Linked DNA regions of Homo sapiens: all the other regions are linked to region 2. The links are contacts of gene promoters, found by promoter capture Hi-C in blood cells and fetal thymus (Javierre and others, 2016). All regions are on one chromosome and are shown on one strand. The core of a region is centred on a gene start or on the middle of the fragment in contact, and the rest is flanking DNA. Distances in the headings are between cores, read along the strand shown.

Evidence for each region. Contacts are between HindIII fragments. The CHiCAGO score rates a contact against its expected background, and 5 or more counts as called.
Region 1: a fragment that was not itself captured here is called in contact with the fragment with the promoter of TENT4A in region 2 in 1 of 17 cell types (naive CD8 T cells); the score reaches 5.0 in naive CD8 T cells.
Region 3: a fragment that was not itself captured here is called in contact with the fragment with the promoter of TENT4A in region 2 in 1 of 17 cell types (naive CD8 T cells); the score reaches 5.1 in naive CD8 T cells.
Region 4: a fragment that was not itself captured here is called in contact with the fragment with the promoter of TENT4A in region 2 in 2 of 17 cell types (monocytes and M2 macrophages); the score reaches 8.9 in monocytes.

What each region holds. Positions count from the first base shown.
Region 1 is chr5:7,893,355-7,896,054 of GRCh38, reverse strand. MTRR (5-methyltetrahydrofolate-homocysteine methyltransferase reductase) reads right to left here. Exons shown (of 15, transcript NM_002454.3): 12 at 203-321. Among named protein-coding and RNA genes, the nearest start is that of MTRR, 26 kb to the right of the region's middle. The HindIII fragment of the contact is 8,378 bases long and covers 1-2,700 here.
Region 2 is chr5:6,708,815-6,715,835 of GRCh38, reverse strand. TENT4A (terminal nucleotidyltransferase 4A) reads right to left here and starts at 2,404. Exons shown (of 13, transcript NM_006999.6): 1 at 1,137-2,404. The coding sequence starts at 1,852. RefSeq lists enhancers at 1-38, 3,256-3,315 and silencers at 1,036-1,425, 1,796-1,865, 2,166-2,535, 2,646-3,085. The HindIII fragment of the contact is 9,360 bases long and covers 1-6,624 here.
Region 3 is chr5:5,542,773-5,549,319 of GRCh38, reverse strand. No RefSeq gene overlaps it. Among named protein-coding and RNA genes, the nearest start is that of ICE1, 120 kb to the right of the region's middle. The HindIII fragment of the contact is 220 bases long and covers 3,424-3,643 here.
Region 4 is chr5:7,749,769-7,756,233 of GRCh38, reverse strand. All of the region lies in intron 15 of ADCY2 (adenylate cyclase 2), which reads right to left. Among named protein-coding and RNA genes, the nearest start is that of CFAP90, 98 kb to the left of the region's middle. The HindIII fragment of the contact is 4,872 bases long and covers 1-4,612 here.

The sequences.
Region 1 (2,700 bases), core at 1-2,500, 1.2 Mb before region 2:
TAAAAAAGGAAGTTCTAGTACAAAGCACAATCTCTACAACATTGTGTTTACTTTTCCCATGGTGACAAATTATGTTATCGCACATTGAATAATAATTTTTTAAATAAAAATTTTACAAAGTCCAATTATCCTCAAAATGACTAAAGAAACAAAAACGGTTACTCAGGAATACATTTTCCCATTAGCCAAAAAAAGAACATACCTATGTTGTAGGAACCCAATAAACGGGGCTATGCCGGTTCCTGGACCCACCATTATGATGGGGATTGAGGGGTCATCTGGTAAGTGGAAAGAATTTGTTGTTCGAGGAGAGATGGATATCTGAAATATTACATCAAATGTGGTAAGTATGAAAGAAAACCTAGGCAAGAGTATATAATCAAGATGATCTTTGCTAAACAAATCAGAAAGGGAAAATTCCCATCAAAGAAACATCACTAAATAGTGGCATCAGATTTTATTGAAACCATGAGCACATTTGTCACTACAGAAAGAAGTTTGTCTTGCAAATTTTTCTTTTCTATTCAAATAAAAAATGTTGTAAAAAATGATAGGCATGGTGTCTTTGAGGTAGAACTCTAAATAGATAATCAAATCATGTTTCTTGGTCTATGGATAAGATCTGCTTTCTGGTGGGCAGACAATAGCATATATTATGGAGAAATGTACCCTAAATATGAAGACAATAAAGATTAGCATCACGATGAGGTTGAAAAATTTTAAATAAAAGTCAGGCACCTTAAAAAGAAATTGAGGGGCTGCTCCAAATATTCCAGATAATGGTGCTGTATTTGCTATTCTGGGTCCAATATTACCCAGAATTATTTTTGTTATAACTAAACAAATCATATAATTATCAAAATCTTTTTGTTAAAATTTCAAAAGATATTTCTGAATCAATCTGAGTATGTTTCACTTCCAGTTTCACTGTCATATGCAAAAGTCATACTGATACCAAGATTTAAGAATGACAGGATTCCCCTCCACCTTGCATGGTGGTGTAACTGTATACATTTTAACTTTTAACTCAAGGACGACTGTAGGAAGTAATGACGAGCCTGAACACCATACCTTTTAAATGAAGGAATGGCAAAGCTGTGTCTCATTACTGCTCTTACTTGGGAATGAAACTAGTTAACATTACATTAGCCTTCTTTGCTTCATTCATTTAACAGATTTACTGAAAGTATTCACCATGACAGGCATTAAGGATACAGAAATGAACAAAACAACGCCCCTGTCTTTACGGAACTTACATTCTAGTGGAAGGAAAAGAAAATAAACATACACATTATCACATATATCCACAGAATGATGGGTAATGACTTCCCAATGTCTTAGGAAGCAAAATTACACAGGATAAGGAAATGATGGGTGTGGCAGTGAGCTGCTAATTCAAACACCAATGTCAAAGAAGGCCCATGTCTACAATGAGACCTTTGACCACGATCTGAATCAAGGGAGTTAGCCATGCCAGAGCATATTCCTGGCAGAAAAGAAAAACACATGTACAAAGATCCTGTGACAACAGCACACTTTCTACGTTCTGGGGCTCTCTTCCTCGAAGGCTGTGGGACTGCTTCACTTGAGGGTCTATGTGGAGAGAATATCATGGCAGATAGGAAGAAGAGAGCCAAGCTACACCACGCCCACAGGCTTAGTGCTCCTGCTTAGATGTGGCAGATGTCCTTCTGTTCACACAGCCAGGCTGAACATCAGTGGCAGGGTTAATCTGTGAATAACTGTACTATCCGCCATAGTAGGGCAGGGTGGGTGATAGGTCTTGCAAAAGTCAACATTCTGTATAATTTGTAATAAAACACAACACAAGCACAGGTAATTTCAGATAGTTTTAAATTATATCCTTCATATCTGCACTTCTACTGCATATAGATTGGATAGTTAATAAAAATCTGTTAAAATGGGGAAGGAAGGACGAAGAGAGGGAGGGAGGAAAGGAGGAGTAGGTGAAAGGCACCCATGTTTAGTGTTTACGATACATGATGGACACACATTGTTTTTAATGTTCTGGAGATCATCTGCTATCTTTATACAATCACCAAGTGACATATACTTGTATATCAGTACTATAATATTTCTTCTCAAAAAAGAAAGTTTCTGTAAGGTTCCTAATATTTTGATGTATAATGAATACATGATGTATAGAGAACACAATAAAGCATCTCTCTGTTCCAGGCAGCAGACTGGAAAAACATCAAGTTAAACGGCAATTTCAAGCAGCAATCATCCCTTATCCTCTCAAGTATATCCCAAGAAGTCCTAATCCCCACTATTGAGGTCTATGAACCTTTCAACTCTAATAAAGAAACCAAACTTCTCCTAAGACAACACTCCAAGTGAATCACTGATTTCTTCATTACTATGAAGAAAGAGGACTTCATGATAAAGCCTGAAATGTTGCTTTATTTCAACCATTCTTGTGGACAACTTTAAACTGTTGCCTACACACGTGGTCTCGAAATTCTGCTGAGTGCCGTATCAAAACATAAAAAGATGTCACTGAGTCCAAGTGTAAAGTGTCCACAATCTGTTGAGAAAATCACATAACCTTTTACTCCTAGGTGTTGTAAAAGTATTTACAGCCATATGTCTTCTCAATAATGGCACAAGTTCAGATGTCAGACACCACAGATAACAAAAGCAGAAAAACAGGGATGCGGGGACCCTACTAGCCAAAAT
Region 2 (7,021 bases), core at 1,155-3,654:
AGAAGGTATCGCTTGTAGCCCAAGCCAGGTGAAATAAGTTACAGAACATGCAGCTATTACAGTGTATCACACGCTTTAAAGAAGTATCAACTCGTGTTTCCCAACATACTTCAAATGAGAAAAAGAGTTACAAGCAAAAGTTTACTATAAGAACTCCCAACACCTAGCAATTGTGGTTATTTGTAGGACTCTACTGCATGCAACAACCCTCATACCCCAGCAAATCCTTAATTGTTTTTTAAATTGGGGGGAAAAATTGTGCAAGGAAAAATTATCATTTAAGTCTTAAAATACTGACATACAACCTACACATAAATTGCTTCCAGACGCTCAGAAAAGCCCAAAATGGCAAAGGGGCTGCGTCAACAGCATCACACCTGAACAGCCTCACCTGGGACAATTCCAACCCCGAAACACACACCACCTTTCGTTTCATTCCTTGCCGTCTGTAAGTGCACTAAATTTAAGTAGAGCCTCTAATTCCCTCTAGGCGGATGTAGAAATATTTAAAATAAAAATGGCACCTTCCAAAGAATAGACATATATGACAAATCTGGTTTTTTCTTTGAATTAAGCCAATGTTTATAAACCATAGGCGATGCTTATGGTAATTGCAGCACAAAATTAAAGGACACAACACCCCCCAAAAAATGAATCACCTCTAAGTTGACAGTTAAATTTTTTTAAAAAATGAAATTAAAAAGGTTAATATTTACCTTCGACGTGATTCGAGTTCCTGGCAATGCTAAATTATTCTGCAACTTAACTTACGTGAAACTCCACACTTATCTACGCCCCACTTTGACAAGGGGTTCCTCACTTGCCCGGAGGCGGGGTGGAGGGGTAGAGAGTCGATTTCCCGTTCCAATCTCAAGAGTAAAAAAGACAAATACCTGCAGGTCCTACCCAGCAGCCCCTTTTCTTGGACTGTTACTTGTAGGATCTGGGCAAGTCACTCCACGATAAATGAGTCTGATGTTTAAAAAAAAAACTTTCAGTGCAGAGTCGGGCCTTGGCCTTAGCCTTCAACATCCATCCTCCAAAAGCCCGGGCGCCTGGGACGGGTGTCTGCACCGCGGGCGCCGGCCAGGACCATGGGCCCCGCCCCCGCCCCCGCGGCCTCCCCGCGCACTCACCCCTGGATGCCCGGGCTGTACGCGCGGCTCTTCCACGGGGTGCCGGGCCGCGGCGCCTGGGCCCCGGGGCCGCCCCCTCCGCTGAGAGCGGCCGCGCGGCTGCCGGACAGCAGGTAGTTGAGGCCGTAGGTGCTGGCCTTGTTCTCGCGTTTCCGGCGACCCGGGTGGAACTGGTGCTGCGACGGGGAGCCGGCGGGCGCGGGGCCGCGCGGCCCGGGGTGCCCGTTGGCTGTGCCAGGGGCGCTGGGCGCGCCGTCGGCGAAGTTGAAGAAGGCGCCGCCGCGGCCGCCGCCCGGCCGGCCCAGCGAGGCGCTGCTGGAGGACGACGACGAGCAGCCGGGGCTCTCGGTGCCCGACTCCGCGTTGGACGAGGAGGACGACGACGAGGACGACAGCGACGGCGACTTGTGCAAGCGCCGCGCGCCCTCGGCCGCGGGCCCCAGCGCCGTCAGCAGCGCGGGGGGCAGCGCGGCGGGCGCGGTGGGGCCGGGCGGCGGGGGCGACGCGGCGGGCAGCGCGGGGCCCAGGCCGCCACTGCCCCGCCCGGCCGCCCCCGCCGCGGCCGCCGTGTCCAGCGCCGGCGAGTTGAGGCAGAAATAGGACGCGAAGCCCGAGCCGCCGCGGCCCACGCCCTGCGAGGTCTCCCAGATCTGCATCCACAGGGCATTGGCCGGCCCCTTCTGCTCGGGCTGGATCCAGGCCACGCGCGGATCCATCCACGCGCCGCCCCCGCGGGGCCCGCGCGCCCGCCCGCCCCGACGCGGCCCCGCCCCCGCCGCGCCCCGAGGCCCGGCCGCGCGCGCACGGACGGACGGACGGGCCTGGGCCGGTGGCGGCGGCGGCGGCGGCGGCGGCGGGCGGGCCGAGCCCCGGCCTCCTGCTCTAGCCGCGCTCCCGTCGGGCTCCGGCGTGGGGCGGCGGCGGCGGTGATGGGCCCCGGCAGGCCGCGGCGGGCGGCTCCGGCGCTTGGCGCGTCCCAGCGGGCGGCTGCGGTCTCCGGGCTCCCGCTTCACGCGGCGCGGGGCGGGCGCGGGGGCCGCGGCGGCGGCGGCGTTCCACTCGGGCCGCGGGGAGAGGCCATCGGAGAAGGGCGGGCGGCGGGGCCGAGGGGGCGGGCCCAGGCGCCGAGCGGCTGAAGGACCCGCGGGAGGCGCCGCCGCCCGTGCGGCTAGCCCTCAGTCACGCTCGCGCCGCTGGCTCGGCGCTCCTGCGGCGGCGGCGGCGGCGGCGGTGAAAAGACACTCTCGGCGGCGACAGCGCGGGGGAAGGAGGGGGCCGCCGCCGCGTCCGCTCCAATGAGGGGCGGGGGAGGGGGCGGGGACGGGGGCGGCAGGAGGAAGCGCGGCCTCGGTCGCCGGGCCGTGTCGCCGGTGCGCACGCGCGACCGATTTCAAATCCTCACTAGACACTGCCGCCGTGGTTACCGCGCCTGCGCGTTGGGGCCCCGTCGGCCGCGGGCGGGGTGAGGACGGCGTCAGAAGCTACGCGACTGGGAGGGGCTGGAGGGAGAGGCGGTGGCGTTGAGCCATTACTGACTAGGCCGGCGTTGGGTGGAATAGGCAGCGGCTGGAAGGCCCGCACGCCGCCCTCGGCCCGCCGCGGCGCGCAGACCCCGGCGTGCAGACATGCGCGCTAGGGCCGGTGTCACCGGGCTGCCGCCTGAGCCGCGCTGCGCGTGCGCAGGGCAGCGTGGCCGTCACCGCCGCCGGTGGAAGTTTCCGAGCAGCCGGGCGGGGGCAGCGGACGCCACCGCAGGCGCTTCCCCCGCCGGCCGGCCCTCCCTCCTGACGTAAGGGCGGGCCCCGGTCGCAGATCCCGCCCCAGGTCTCTCATCCGAGGGTCCGTGCAGCAGGTCACGCTGCGCTCTCTGGGGTCCGCGCGTCGGCCCACGTGCTCCCTGCACCTCGCGGGGTGAGCGGCCAGCGTGCCGTGCCGGGTGGCTGGCTCCGCCGCTCCGGAGCCGGGAAGGACACGCGGCAGAGTCCTGCTCCCTAGCGGGTCTGCTTACAGGCGTTTGGTTTGCTTTTTAAAATGATTTTCTATGCGAAAAGTGAAGTGAAAACTTCCAAGTTAATTCCCTGGGCAAAATGGGCAGTGCTAGCCGAGGAACGGCTGGTGGGCGGCGCGTCCGGCCCCCGGCTTCGGTTTTTCCAGCTGCACCGAGCGGGCAGGAGTCAGTGGGAAACCGCCCGCCATCCACAGCCTGCCGTTTGCCATCCCGGTGTCCCGAGCGCGATGGAAGCCGGGTTGACAGTGGCACTGTTTGGAATACAGCGCCAACCACACATCCTGTGAGGTCCAAAGCAAACGCCAGTGTCGTTGATCATCGCGGTGCCCCGCGAGCCTGGGCGACGTGAGGCCCCGCGGCTGCCGCCCTGTCTTCAGGCGGAGTCCCCGCAAATGCACTCCCGGGCCAGGGCCCTGAAGCTGCCTTAGCCCAGTGGCGCCCGGGCTCCAAGCCTTTTAAGTAGAACGGGACCTGGCCTTCGTACAGGCGTGTTGTAAATGCTACCCCCTCGTCTCCAGCACAGATGAGTAGACATTACTAAGCACTTGACCCTTCAAACATCGCCCCAACAGGAAAGGTCCGTGTGTTGCATACAAAGGCTTTGGGGCAAGTGGTGGTGGTTAGTAATGAAAATGAATGTTTCAGACGTTTTCAAATACCTTCATATTGTACACGTGGAAATCATGACCAAGGATTAGAACGTGCATTCAGTAAACTACAGAAAATCACACACAAGTCAAACGGCCGTTATTCTGGAGCTGTTTGCTTCCAATGGCTCAGTCCAAAATCCTTGGTCATGCCTGGCTCCTCTCTCTGTCCACAATGAACACATCCTCTTGGCTCCACTGCCCGAAACAACCAGAACCCAACTGCTACCCCTCCTCCTCCCTCCACCCCTCTTTCCCCGCCACCCGTCCATTTTAAAGCAGTGCCTTCTAGCTGGTTTCCCACATTCTGCACAGCTGCTCGTGTGATCCTTTTTAAAAAACAAAAAAGATGTTACTATTTTAAAAATCATCTCATGCCACTCTTAGAATACTATGCAGCCGTAAAAAGGAATGAGATCATGACCTTTGTGGGGACATGAATGGAGGTGGAAGCCACTATCCTCAGCAAACTAACACAGGAACAGAAAACCAAACACCGCATGTTCTCAGTAATAAGGGGGAGCTGAGCAATGAGAATGCATCGACACAGGGAGGGGAACAACACACACCGGGACCTGTTGGGGGTTAGGGGAAGGGAGAGCATCAGGATAAATAGCTAATGCATGCAGGGCTTAATGCCTAGGTGATGGGTTCACAAGTGCAGCAAACCACCATGGCACACATTTACCTATGTAACAAACCTGCACGTCTTGCACGTGTATCCCAGAATTTAAAGTTGACATTTTAAAAAATTCAGTCCATGCCACTCCTCTGCTCAAAACCCTCCAGTGGCTTTCTCATTCAGCAAAATGGAACAACCTTGCTATGACCTGCAAGTCCCTTATCCCCTGGTCCTTCCCCTCTTCCCCTGCCCTCACCTCCCAGCGCTTTCCCTAGCCCAAACAATACCAGCCAGAAGCACCCCTGGCACACTCCTGCCTCAGGGCCTTTGCACTTGCTGTTCCATCTGCCTGACATGCGTTCCCTCCTCCCCATCTTAGTGAGGACGTCCAAGTGGCTCTTTAGTCTAAACTGCAAACATAACCCTCAGCATCCCGTTTCCCTTCCCCATTTGCTTTTTCTCCCTTAGTTTCCTGGAGCTGAGTAACAAAATGTCACAAACTGGGTGGCTTAAAACAACAAACGCATGCTCTCACAGTCCTAGAGGCTGAACGTCCAAAATCAAGTTGTCAGCAAGGCCGTGTATCCTCTGAAGGCTGTAAGGGAGTGTGCCCCATGCTCTCCTCTCAGCTTCTGGTGTTGCTGGCAAACCGTGGCATTCCTTGGCTTGTTGGTGCATCACCCCACTCTCTGACACGTCATCGCATGACGTTTCCCTGTGTCCTTGATTTGTGGATGCAGCGCTCCACTCTCTGTCATCATCATCGCATGGCATTTTCCCTGTGTCCATGTCTCTTCTCAGAAAGACACCAGTGGCATTGGATTAGGGCACCCTAGTGTCTTCCTCCTAACCTGATTACATCTGCAAAGAGTTTCCAAATAAGGTCATATTCGCAGGCACCCAGGGTTGGGACTTGATCATATCTTTTTGGGGGACACTATACCACGTCATATGTATTTTATCTCATTTATCATTTGTGTCCCCCGCCCCATTAGAATGCATGCTCCGTGAAGAGAGGATAGGAATGGCTTGTCCCTGCTGTGTATCAGCTCAAGGATTGTCTGACACATCAGTCCTTGGTGAACATTGGCAGAATGACTGGCAGCTGATTGATTGGCCCAGCGGGAATGGACACGGGCAGTTGCCCTTGTCCAGCTTCCAGGATCTGTTACACAGGTTGTCATTGTTTAGGTATTTTAAGTTTTTCTTGATTGCCTCATACTCTGTCTTTGCAGTTTGCCTCTAGCTAATCCTCGTTGATTTGATCCACCAGCCACCAAACAACATTTTGTAATTAAAACCAAGGTTTTGTTATTTATATATGATCATAAATATTTTTATGTAAATTAAAAGCAGTGTATATATATGTATATATACACATATACATATATATACATATGTGTATATATATGTATATGTGTAGAGAGAGAAAGAGAGAGAGAGTCTCACTCTGTCACCCGGGCTAGAGTGCAGTAACGCAATCCTGGCTCACTGCAACTTCCGCCTCCAGAGTTTAAGTGATTCTCATGCCTCAGCCTCCTGAGTAGCTGGGGTTACAGGTGTGTGCCACCGCATCCGGCTAATGTTTGTATTTTTAGTAGAGATGGGGTTTCACTGTGTTGGCCAGGCTAGCCTTGAACCCCTGACCTCCAGTGATCCACCCACCTCAGCCTCCCAAAGTGCTGGGATTACAGGCATGAGCCACCGTGCCCGGCTGCAGTGTATTTCTTAATGCAATCAAGAAACAATACTGAATGTAAAATGCAGTTTTTGAGACGCTGGGCAAGGGAGATCTTTCTCTTTATCAATTTCTACAGATAAGTGCAGCCCATTCCCGTTTTGGGCTGAAACCCTCTCCTCTCTCTCTTCGGATATTGGAGGAGGAATAATATTAGAGATTACACCATGATTTTAGTGATTTGTTCCCATGAAAAAAATGGTTTACAAAGTGTATTCCATGGACTACCCATGCCAGAATTAGCAATGCTGGTCAAAATGCAGATACCTAGAGCTCACCCAATTTACTGAAACTCTCTAGGAGCAAGCCCAGGAATCTCTATTTTAAGTAAATTTTCTGAGTAATTCTAAAACACAGTGAACTCTGAAAACCTCTACCTAAAACAGGGTTCCCAAATTCAATTGCTCACAGGTGCCAAATAACTGAAAGTGTGTAGGTATTAGCTACTGCTGGGTAAGAAGCCACCCCAAGCTTAGTGGCTTAAAATAAGTGTTTGGTATTGCTCACAAGTCTACAAATCAACTAGGTGGTTTTGCTGCTCTGGGTCAAACACAGCTGATCTTGCTCCACTCAGCTGGCCAATCAGCTGAAGGCTGGCTGGGCTAGAGTAGCCTGGCTGGCAGCTGGGGCACTGGAGTTGACAGAGTTGACAAGGACCATCAGTCTCTTGTTATCCAACAGGCTGACTCAGGCTTGTTCTCAGGTGGCTGAACAGAGTTTCAGGAGTGCAAGCAGACATGCATGAGGCTCAGAACCGGCATGCCATCACTTCCTTACCATTCTGTGAGACAAAGCAAGTGGCAAGGCCTTGACAAGTCAAGGAGTGGGAAAGAAGCCTCCACCTCTTGATGGAAGGAGCTGCATCATATT
Region 3 (6,547 bases), core at 2,284-4,783, 1.2 Mb after region 2:
CGGCATTAAATGTGAATATGTCTACAAAGGCTTGAGACTCAATAATCTACTCACAAATGAAATACTCATTCACACAAATACATTAGGCAGGGTTCTCCACAGAAACAGACCAATAGGATGTGTAATGTGTGTATACACACACACACACACACACACACACACACATATAGAGATAGAAATAGAGATAGAGGTAGAGATTTATTTTAAGGAGGAATTGCCTCACTCATTTGTAAGTGCTGGCAAGTCTGAAATGTGCAGGGCAGGCCAGTAAGCAGGGGATCCAGGGAGGAGGTGATGTTGCAGCTCAAGTCCAAAGGCAATAGAGAGGTAGAATTCCCTCTTTTTCTGAGAGAGGTCAGTCTTTTCCAACTAAGGCCTCCACTGATTGGATAAGCCCCACCCCTATTATAGCGGGTAATTTACTTCTCTCAGTCTACTGATTTAATGCTTTTTATTAGTTTTTTAATGAGAAAAATCATAATTATATACATTTGTGGGGTGCAATATGATGTTTTGATTTACATATATCATGGAATGATTCGGTCAAACTAATAAACATATTCAACATCTCACTTATCATTTTTATGGTAAGATGTTTGAAATTTACTCTTAGCTATTTTGAAATACACAGTACATTCTTATTGACAATAGTCACCTTGCTGGGCGATAGATCTGGAAAACTTATTCCAAACTTTGCACCCTTTCACCAACATCTCCCCATTCACTTTCCTGCCACTGAGGCTCTGGTGACCACTGTCCTACACTCTCTTTCTATGAGTTTAGCTGTTTTAGATCCCACATATAAGTGAGATCACATAGTACTTGCCTTTCGCTGCCTGGCTTATTTCACTGAGCCTAATGTCCTCCAGGTTCATCCATTTTGTTGCAAATGACAGAATTACCTTCTTCCTTTTTTAAGGCTGAATAATATTCCATTGTGTATGTGCACCACATTGTCTTTCTTCTTGGTCTAATGGAAACTTACATTCATTCAAGAATGAATTAATTCATTCATTCTTGGCTATTGTAAATAAGGCTGCAGTGAACACGGGAGTGCAGATGTCTCTTTTAGATCCTGATTTCAAGTCCTTTGGATAGATACACAGAAGTGGGATTGCTAAATCACATGGTAGTTCTATTTTTAGTTTTTTGAGGCAGTTCCATACTATTTTCCATAATGGCTGCACTCATTTACTCCCCCAGTGACAGTGTACCAGGATTCTCTTTTCTCTGAGTTCTCACCAGTACTTGTGATCTTTCATCTTTTTGATTATAGCCATACTAACATGGGTCAGGTGATATTTCCTCGTGGCTTTAATTTGCATCCCCTTGATGACTGGTGATGTTGAGCATTTTTCATGAATCTATTGGACATCTGTATGTCTTCTTTGGAGAAATGTCTGTTCAGGTCCTTTGCCAACTTTTTAATAGGGTTTTTTGTCATCTTACTGTTGAGGTGTTGAATTCCTTGTATATTTTGGATATTAACTCTTTATCATATGTACGGTTTACAAACATTTTCTACCACACCATACTGTGGGTTGCCTCTTTGTTAATTGTTTCCTTTGCTGTGCAGGGACTTCTACTTTGATCTAATCCTATTTATCTATTTTTTACTTTTGTTGTCTGGGCTTTTGCAGTCATATCCAGAAAATCATTGCCCAGAACAATCTTGTGGAGCTTTCCCCTATTTTCTTCTAGCAGTTTTACAGTTTCAGGAATACTGATTAAATGTGACTCACATCTGAAAAACAGGCTCATAGCAACATTTTGAGGTTGACCAAAAACTGGTTGCCATGATCTAGCCAAATTGACACATAAAATTACCCATCACATACACAGTCATGTGTCACTTGACAACTGGGATATGTTCTGAGACATGGGTCATTTGGTGATTTCATTGTTGTGTGAACATCATACAGTGGACTTACACAAACCTTGATGGTACAGCCCACTACACACCTAGGCTACAGGGAACAGTGTATCACTCCTGGGCTACAAACCTGTACAGCAGGTGACTATACTGAATACTGTAAGCAATTGCAACCCAGTGATAAGCATTTGTGTATTTAAACATATCCAAACATAGAAAAGGTATAGTAAAAATATCGTGTTATAATCTTATGAGCTCATCCTCATGTATGTGGTTTGTTGTTGACTGGAATGTCATTCTGTGGTACATGACATTTATACACATATACAGAGGGAAAACTTATCCAGGGAGTTTGAAATTATCCATCTTCAAGCAAAAAGAAATCCAAAAAAAACCCAAAAACAAATAAAAAGCAGTAAAGAAAGTCTATAAAATGTACTACTTGTCTACCTGCAGGTGATAATAAGTTTGGGTTTCCTTGATTAAAGTGCTATTAAATAAAATCAAAGTAGATAGTGTTGAACATTGCTCATACATGGGGATGAGTCCCTCTCTGCCCCTAAATTGTCTTTTCTAGAAACTGAGGTGATTTTCTTTGCACAAAGTGCTTAAACAAAGCAGTAAGGCGCAAGGCTCAGAAGCACAGGTTTTGGAGTCAGCCCAGCCAGAGTCCACTCCTGGGATCCTCCACAGTCTTCCTGTATAATCTTGGGCAATCAAACTAATCTCCTGGGGCTATTTCCTAATCTGTAAAGTGGACATAGAAAGATGAAATTGCTGAATGATGTGAGAAGTAATCGAGACCTATAAGGAGAGCACTTAATGGCAGTGTCAGGCACACGGTAATGGTCCAGCAAATGACAGCCGTAACAGTGAACCAGCATGGTTTCCAATCATCAGCTGCCATGTGCACTGCAACCAAGGCAGACTTGGATGAGGGCTGTGATGAAACCTGAGCATGAAAGCCATCTTCAAGGAGGAAGGGGTGGTGGTGGCCAGGACTGCAGTTTCTAGGGCAGGTGGGATCACAGGTGGAACCTCCAGGTGGTCCACGCAGTGTCTGAGGCATGACAGTCTCCATGCTGATCTCATAGGCAGTTAATAACAGAAAAACATCAAAGCGGGCAGATGTCCCAATGCTGTGAACATTTCAGAGCAAAAGGATGGCATTGTTATGCGGGCACTATCTTTTTTAGCACGATCACAACCAGGGAGGAGAGGGCTGGTGGGAGAGGGGCAGGGTCTCGGGAGCTTAGCTACATGGGTGGGTCCTAATACTTTCCCGTGCATATGTACAACATTCTTGTGAAATAGATTTATCTAATATGCGGTTAAGATATCGCTATATAGATGACTTCCACCTCTGCTAATATCAGATGAATCCTCCTCAATGTGAACAAGAAGAAAATCTGAGAAAATATTGTTCAAATGTATTTAAAGGTGTCAGAAAGCTAATGTAGTAATAAAAATTTACCCAGCCAAGGTTTGAGAGAAAAATAAAACATAGACAGGTGTTTCTGGCATGTGGGCCAATTTTACCCCTAAAAGCTTCTCTTTATTCTGAAATAAGCTGCAGAACAAGTAAAGATGAACAGAGCCCTTGACAGATTCCCAGAGACAGAGACAGAAACTGGAATTTAAGGCACTTCAGGTACAGACGGTGGCTATGGTAAGCACCTATGATTTAGGCTGGGACATCAAAGAGTTATATTATAGAATTAAGAGCAACCAGAAACACACTGACTCTCAGACAAAATCAGTATCCAAGCTTTGAGCCATGCCGATCCCTGAGGAGTCAAAGTAATCCTGGCCTTCGAACTCCCTAGCCTAGTTACCCTCTGGTAGCCAATTGAAACCCTCTGTGTAGAAAGATGGCATCATCCAGAGACTCAAATTAGCTCTACAAGTTTTCAAATACAATGCCTATGCCCAGTCTAAAATTATTATGCATAAGGAGATAAGAAAAAATTATTTAAAATAAAGAGAAATAGTACACCCATAAGTGAGTCAGATAATGGCATTATCAGATACAGACTTCAAAATAGCAAGGGTTAATACATTTAAGGAAATAAAGGCTACACTGAGAATTCCTGTAGAGAACCAGAAACTGTTTTTCTAAATCCAAGTGGATGTTCTAGGACTGCAATAACAGCATGCTAATGGATTTAAGAGAAAATTATAAAAAGCTAAAGATGAAATTATTAAACTGAGATAGGTCAGAAAGAATTATCCAGACAATGTAATGAGAATTACAGAAAGAACAGAAGAGATGCAGAGATGTGGTAAGATGGTCTACATTACTTATAACTGAATTTCCAGAAACACAAGAGAAAAATAAAGAAGCAAAAAATAATAATTTTCCAAAATTGATGGAAGCCCTCAAGCCACATATTCAAGAAGTTCTACAAACCCCAAACAAGATAAATGCAAAACACCACACCTAGACACAGGATGGAAAAATCCCTAAAAACAAAAGAAAAAGCAAGCAGAGAAAAAAAGAAAATTACTTTCGAAGTGGTCTCCATAAGACTTAAAACAAATGTCTCACTCGAAATGATATAAAAACCAGAAGAGAATAAAAAGATATCTTCAAATTCAAAAAAAAAAACAACAAGATTTTAAATTTAGTTAGGTTCTAGAAAAATATATCTCAAAGACAAAAGTAAAATTAAGACACATTGGGACAAACAAAATTGACAGAATGTGTCAGCATTGGAACCACACTGAAGAAAATGCTCAAGGAAATGTATTCATCTGCTGCTAAAACCTGAAGAAGGAAGAGAGGTGAAGCTTGAAATATGTGAGTAAATCTAAACAGAATTGTTGATTAAAACGACAATAATGCAGAATTAAAATAAATGGCCATAATAATACATAAGGTGGGAGGAAGCTAAATGGAGTTAGGGCAGCCTGAATTTCCTGCACTGAGTGCAAAGGAGTGAACCTGCTTATGTATATTTGACTTGGTAGGTCAAGGACACCTGTTATGTTCTCTTAGCAGGATCACTGGTTTTAGAAGAGTGTATAACGACCGAGTAATGAACCGAATGTCTGTGTCCAAAAAATGTCTGTGTTGAAATCTGAACCCTCAGTGATCTCTAATGAGATGGTACTAGGAGGCGGGCCCTCTGAGAGGTGATTAGATCAGGAGGGTGGAGCCCTCGTGATAAGTGTTCTTATATAAGGAGCACGTCTCTCTCTTCCCCAGCCGCCCAATCTCTCCCTCTGTGAGGGCAGTGCCATGTGAGGGCACTGTAAGAAAGTAGCCATCTGTGAGCCTAGAATAAGACCCTCACCCCAAACCCAACCATGCTGGCAGCCTGATCTCAGACCTCCAGGCCCCAGAACTGTGAGAATTAAATGTTTGCTATTTAAGCCACCCAGTCAATGGTAAGCTTGCTACAGCAGCCTGAACCAACTAAGACTAAGAAATTAAATAATTAGGCAGGGCGCAGTGGCTCGCACGTATAATCCCAGCACTTTGGGAGGCCGAGGAGGGCAGATCATGGGGTCAGGAGTTCGAGACCAGCCTGGCCAACATAGTGAAACCCCATCTCTACTAAAAATACAAAAAAATAGCCGGGTGTGGTGGTAGGCACCTGTAATCCCAGCTACTGGGGAGGCTGAGGCAGGAGAATTGTTTGAACCCGGGAGGCGGAGGTTGCAGTGAGTGCCATTGCACTCCAGCCCGGGTGACAGTGCGAGATTGTCTCAAAAAAAAAAAAAAAGAAGAAGAAATGAAATAATTATTATAAAAAAATACTTAACCAATTCAATAAAAAGGGGCAATGTTAAGGAGAAAAACAAGGAAGAAGAACATCTCTTCCAGATATCAAGACTTACTAGACCATAATTAAGACACTTTGGTACTGACATAAGGACGAACAATCTTATAAAAATGGAATAACCTCTTTGGAAAACTGGCATAAGCAACTACATATGGTCATTTGCTGCACCACGAAGGTGGCCCTGAAACACAATGAGGATATAATGGTCTCTCCAGTAAATGGTGCTGACACCCATAGGGAAGTAAATGAATCACAGGACATAAAATCAATTCCAGGTGGATTAAAGACCTAACTGTGAAACATAAAGCAAAAAGAGTTCTAGAGAATGACAGAATATCTTCATGACCTTGGAAAAGACATAAATGAAAAGACTAACAGAGCTGTGTTAAATTTAAGAAAGTGCGTTCATCAAAAAAGACATTAATAAGGGAGTGACAAGGCGAGCCTCGGAGTAACAAAAGATCTTTGCATCACAGACAACCTCCAAAGGACTAGCATGCAGAAACCCTAGTAATCAACAAGAAAAAGAGAACCCTATAGAGAAAAGCAGGCAAGAGACTTGCAGGGAGAGCAGAATATGGACCCTAATATATGAAGAATTGTTGAGCTGAAGGCGATTAAGAAGCAGCAGAAACAGAGAAGTTCTCCGTGCTCTATTTGCCTAAAAGCCAGACATAGATTTACAAAGACAAAGGGAATCCTGCCCACCCCTTCTACCAGGAAGAAAAAAGTTACCCACTGACAACAACATAGGTCCTTATCTGCCTGGCGATGGTCCCAGAGGACTCTGCATGAGCAAGCCTCACCAGCTCGCCTTTATCTGACAGTTATCTGCCTCCCTTCAAGTTGTAGTCTCTGGAGACCAATGGACTGTCCCCTTGTCTTG
Region 4 (6,465 bases), core at 927-3,426, 1.0 Mb before region 2:
TATGAGTGTGGAGCAGTACACAGAGTTCCACTGAACTGTGGGTGACATCAACTCTGCCTATGCAGATGCTGCGTGGGCATAATTTGCATACGTTATCTGATATGAGAAGCAGGAAGTAAAAGTCCTCCAGGGATTGACATTGTTATCTTCACACTAACGGGCCTGTGGTCCCAAGGCTATGTGTCTTGGAAACAAAACAAGGTGATGATTTCAAGAAATTCAGAAGAAGGAATAACATAAATTATGCCCTTTGATCGATACTACCAAGTTAACCTATTGGCAAACAAAGCTGGTGTGACATCAGTGAAATTCAAATTCAAATAAAGAATATTCCTGAACAGCACAAATAGGCTGCGCTTTCAGTTCTCTACTTCTTTCACATCTTATTTTTGTATTGTTCCTAAAATTATTGTTGCCCTAAGCATTGCTGTATGTTCAATGTTGATACAACAGTTGAATGATCGTCTAAACACAGGAGAGAGGAGTTGAGAAGGTTAAAGAATCAGCCATGGCCTAGCTTCAAACCTCTACTGCTGGGAAACTTGCGCAAATTAATGATCCTCTCTGAAATGGGGTCCCAGTTTCTTCCTCTCTGAAACGGGGATAATAACAGTACCTGCCTCCTCTGTCTTTGCAGAGGTTTAAACGAGTTAGAGAAGGTGCGTGCAACAGGACTTACAAGTGTTAGCTCTTCCTGTTATTTCAATGAAGAAAACACAATGTTTCTTAGAAACATTTTAGTGACCAAAATCCTATTTCCTTTATATCTATGTAAACAACAACAAAATCTCCTCCTCTCTACTCCTTTCCACCATGTTTTTTTTTTTCTTCCTTCCAGCTCCTGATAGGAAAAGATGAACAATGTTTGTGTACAGCGCACATGCCCCCCTGAGGGAGACGCAGGACCAGGTTCCGGGTTCACTTCTTGGGCTGATTTTCCTGCGCCCTCGTCTCATTTCTCTGAGTACCTACCAGGGAGCTTGAGCCACTGCTGCCCTCAGCCGCACAGGCTGCCCAGAGCTGGACTGCTGACTGGCGGCAGGGGGCGCCCTCGGCCCAGCTCTGCAGGACATCTGATCACCGGCAACAGAAGAACCAGATCTGTACTTGACGCTTCTACTTAAGAGCAGGTTTGGATAGGGGTTGGTGATGGCAGGAAATCTGTCATGCAGCAAGATGTCCCTTAATGCTCTGAACATGCAGCATCTTAGAGGGTCAGGTAGCCAGAGAACATCCACCCACGAATGGTTATCATTATTGTTTAATGCATGCTACTTCTAATAATACTAATATCACAAAACACAGTCAGATCTGTGTTCCGTAGAAGAAGGTTTTTTGTTTTGTTTTGTTTTGTTTTTTCTTTTTTTTTTTCCTGAGACGGAGTCTTGCTCTCTCACCACTCAGGCTGGAGTTCAATGGCACGATCTCTGCTCACTGCAACCTCCGCCTCCTAGGTTCAAGCGATTCTCCTGTCTCAGCCTCCTGAGTAGCTGAGTTTTTTTTGTTTGTTTGTTTTGTTTTTTGCCATTACCTTTAAACCGCAACTACTTTTGCACCAACCTATAATACAATATGAAGAGCCGAGCTTCAAATGAAATATTATGCTCATCTAGCTCAGATTCCATTAGATAATGGCATTTGGTTTGATTCTCACAAATTAAGACAGTATTTATATATTCACATCCAGATTGACTACAGTTAGTACCTTTAAGAGAAAATTATTAAAATCAATGCTCTTATATTTGTGAAATTATGATAATTTCTGTACACAGAAATTATCAATAGATATGATAATGAAAATGTTAACAGTAGAACATTTAAAAAGTTTATTACTTCAGGGGAAAATGTACATCTAGCTAAGATTGCATATCACTGTCAATTAGGTAAAATATTAGCTAGTTATTACACAGACAAATTTTTGAAATTACAAAATTAAAACAAGTTACTGTGTTTGAAGATTTAGAAAAATACGTGGTGATAATCTTGTCAAATATGCTAATCTAATAGGAATATGTTATATTCTGCTCATAGGCTAGTAACTTACTAAAACAGACCCGGGCAGATATGCAGGAATTTTTTTCTGTTCGTGTGACATGCCAGGCAAAATGACGAATCGGCAGCACTTGCAGCTACTTACTAGACGCATGGGGGTTTGGCAGACATGGGTTTGGCACAACAGGTTCAGGATGCGCTTGGTTCAATTATTCACCCATGCATTTTCCATGCATACCTCAAAGTTCTCCCTCACAATTGTTTTAAAACTTATGCCAAATGTGTTGTTCCAGAGGTCAGGGAGACAGGCGGTATCTTTCCTTGTCACCAAGCAGTGACAAGGTAAGTAAACCTGTTCTGAAGTGTAAAAATTGGTAGGCATTGCTGCTGGCAAGGACAAGAAAGTAGAAGAGAACAGAGAGGTGACAGTTGCAATGACAGGGATGAAAGAGGAAGTGGAGGATCAAGCTGGTGGGGGGAGCAGAAGAAACCAATGATGGGGATAAGAGGAGAAACAGGACTAAGATTCTAAAATGGAAGGAACCTGATTAAGAAAAATGGAGACCCTTGATTCAGTGTGTAGCTCTGTAGAAAAATTACAACTTGGCTCTTGATATGATCATTGGCTTCAGTTTATCCTGTTTTTGATTAAGTATTAAAGGCTCTGGTGGAAAAATGTTTATCAAAATTCCGACCATCCTAATTAAATGTTATAAATGACAACATCTCAAAAAATATTTTGGCCTTTATTTGGAAGATACTATTCAACTGAAAATGAGAAAATGCCTGCTGTGAGCCCAGTCAGTGGAGTCATTTTCTTTGATCTTTGGTTTAACTCCTGGCATAATTTCAACCACATCTGTTTCCTCCCTTCCTTGATCATCTCACTGAACCCCATGATCGGCTCTTACTTACAGTGAGCTCACCGTGTACCTTCTAGAAATGCACTTGGATGTGAATATCACATTCATCCATTAACAAACAAGGGATTGATACTAAATGCAGTGGGAGATGTAATAAAAGAAGAAATATATAGGAAAATCCTAGCCAGGCACTGTGGCTCACGCCTGTAATCCCAGCACTTTGGGAGGCTGAGATGGGCAGATCATGAGGTCAGGAGTTTGAGACTATCCTGGCCAACATGGTGAAACCCTGTCTCTACTAAAAAGACAAAAATAAGCTGGGTGTGGTGGCGGGTGCCTGTAATCCCAGCTACTAAGGAGGCTGAAGCAGGAAAACTGCTTGAACCCGGGAGGCAGAGGTTGCAGTGAGCTGAGATTGCACTACTGTACTCCAGCCTGAGTGACAGAGCAAGACTGTGTCTCAGAAAAAAAAAAAAAAAAAAAAGGAAAATCCTATCATAGAATTGATGATGGGGACAACGAGCAGTGGGGTGTGGTAGGAAAAACGTGGGATGAATCCCAATGTTCTTAATCCAGTACATGCAGATCTTCCTCAGAAAAACAAAATGTTCATACATGCTCCACCAAAAATATCAGCCAGCTTCTCTTCCTTCCCTCTCTCTTTCCTTTTTTTTTTCTTCCCTTGTTTTGATCCACTTGCAATGGAAACAACTGGTAGTCTCTCAAATTAAGTTAAATCTAAATTTTTCACTCTAAAATTAATTCTTCATAATTTAACTTAATCATTATAAAAGTAGACTTCATTTACAGTTTCATTAGTTTCCATTTTAACAATAAGATGAGACACTTGAAGAGAAGTAGAAGCTCATATTAAGTGAACTTAATAAAATGAAAAAAAAAATCCAGAAAAGTTATAAAGATATCAGAGTGGCTGAGAAGCAAACTTTTATTATTAGAAAAACGAAATCCATCTTAAAAATCTTGCTTGGAAAATATAGTGGTTTCATGTTTCATATAAACATGTACTTTTGTGTATTTGCCTAAAGGAACATCTACTTTGGCATTTTAATTAGCTGAGGACCGTCATTCTGAATGGCAGGAATAAGCCGGAGCAATAATTACTTGTAACATTTAATGTCACAAAGACTGTGATGTGTACTTTGATTATTTAATTGTCCTTTAATTTCCCATAGGAAGACTTCTTTATGCCAATCAATCATATTTTACAAAATCAACCTGTTTCTTCTTTTCGCCCTGGGTGAGCCACATCCCTGCACTGTTGCTCCACTGGGTACCACATTGCATCATTTTTGCTGACATGCTTGTCTCTGGCCAAATGCAGAGGTGGTTGAGGACAGTGACCATATCGCACTTGTCTCTGTTTTCCCAGAGGCCAGTATAGTGTTTGTTAAATGGTAGGAACTCGTCAAATACGTGTTGATTCTGTTTACTATTTTTAATGATGGACTCAAAGGGAAATTACCAGGGCACAGAAACAAAGAGAGAGCTCAGTGATAAAGGAACTGAGGCTGTGGGGTGGGTCCAGGAGTGTCCTGGATCAGGACTCAGGCTATGGCACTTAGGGGGTGAGCTTTTAACACCCATAGGGAAAAGAAGATATTTCCTTGGGCCAGCCAAACGTGGACAGCTGCAACTAAGACTCTTGAATAAAATCCAGAGCCTCAAACTGCTATACTTTCTGTACAAAGAAGTCTAGAAGAGCCCCATTCACTAGCTCAGGGAAGTGTCAATAAGCTTCCAAGGATCAATCCAAACCCTAAAGTGTTGGGTTTGAAATCACATTACCTGATTCATAATAAGAATTCCAAATTGAAGGGTTGTTAATTAGGTCAAAACCAGAGAAAATCCTTGGGGCTATGGCAGAAGCAAGAATGACACTGCTGGTAAATGATACTTTAGACTACAGTGTGCAGGGATGTCCCATCTGGGGGCTGGGGCAGTTCCTCCTGAACATAACCTCACAATAAAAACCAAATTATAAAGTACCTAAGGCAATGGACCATATGAGGAAGAATCAAAAGACATTAGAGGTAGTCGAATTAGCACCACGAGATCTGCAGATACGACAACAACCTGAAATAGCTTCTAAATTAAGATTAAAGTAACAAAAGAGGGATTATAATCCATATGAATGAGTGAGTTGTTAAGGAAAAATAACAAGTATTTTTTAAAATGAGCCACATAAACTTTCTAGAGATGAAAATGTAGATATTGAAATTAAAAACTAAATGGTTATTGAGGAACTGGATGAACTGCCCGTGAATGGGAGAGGCTATGAAACATCTCAGGAAATAAACCACAAAATAGCACAGAAAGATAAAGAAGTGGAAAATAGGAAAAAGAGACTGAGACACAGAGGATATGATGAAGAGATTCAACATACCTCTGATAAAAGTTTGAAAAAAGCAGAACAGAAAGACCAGGGAAGAGACAAAACACAAGGAGATATTGGACAATGACGTTGCAGACCTAGAGCGGATTATGAGGTCTGTGGTAGAGAATACACAGCTGAGTCTCAAAAATAAAAGTCAGGCTGCACTTTGACACCTGGAATCTACTGCCCATGATACAAAGAGCAAATCCTACAAAAACTCCCACCGAGACAAGGGACCAAGTGTCTACAACAGTTAGATGGACAGGAGAGTTAATCTCATTCCCACAGAGGCCAGGAAATTATGGAATCCTGTTTTTAGAATGTTAGAAAAAATTATAAATAATCACAATGGGGAAAAGATAAAGACTTTTTAAAATACAAAATCTGAGTGGGTATATTATATACAAACCCTCATGGGAAGGATTATAAAAGGAAGCATTTTAGTAATATGGAAACTGAGTCCAGAAAGGTGGAATGGTATTTGGAAAAAATAGTAAACAAATACATTGTTTAACAAAAACAGGAATAAACATTGAATAATTTGAGCAGTTTAAGTTTAGAAAAATTTAAACCATGCTAGTATGGAAGATGAGAAAAATTACCAGACTCAGAGCATGGTCCCTGTATTGTTCAACAAGAAAGTGGAGATATTATTAATAATATACTTTGTTAATCATGTGTACATGTTACGGTTTTAAGGTAATAACTGAAAAAACAAACTAGAGTATATAAGTTCCAAGTCACTAGAGAGAATAAAAGAGAATAAACTCCAGGAGTCCAAAAGAAGGCAGAAAAGAAGGAAAAACAAGTAGAAGCAAAAAGATACAAATTGGGTTTTAAAAGATTTTAGTAATAATTATAATACAGGTAAATGGATCACACTTGTCAAATAAGAGAGAGAGATGTTTGGATCAGAGAAAAGGACATAGAGCTACATGCTGTTCACCAGAGACACACCTAAAACCTATATCCTTTTCATTGACAAGGAAAAGCTGAAAGTAGAAAGATGGAACAAGGAACACCAGGCAAATACTAACCAAAAATAAAATATGGTGGAGGGATATTGACAGGAAAGAAAACAGACTTCAAGGGAAAAACACTGCTGTGGGGTAGAAAGCTTTTCTATTAGCTGTGTGACCTACTTTCCCTTTCCCGAGGCGACCTCTCTATTTGCGCTTTTATCTCTGCCTGGAAGAACGTTGGTGGGCTGGCATC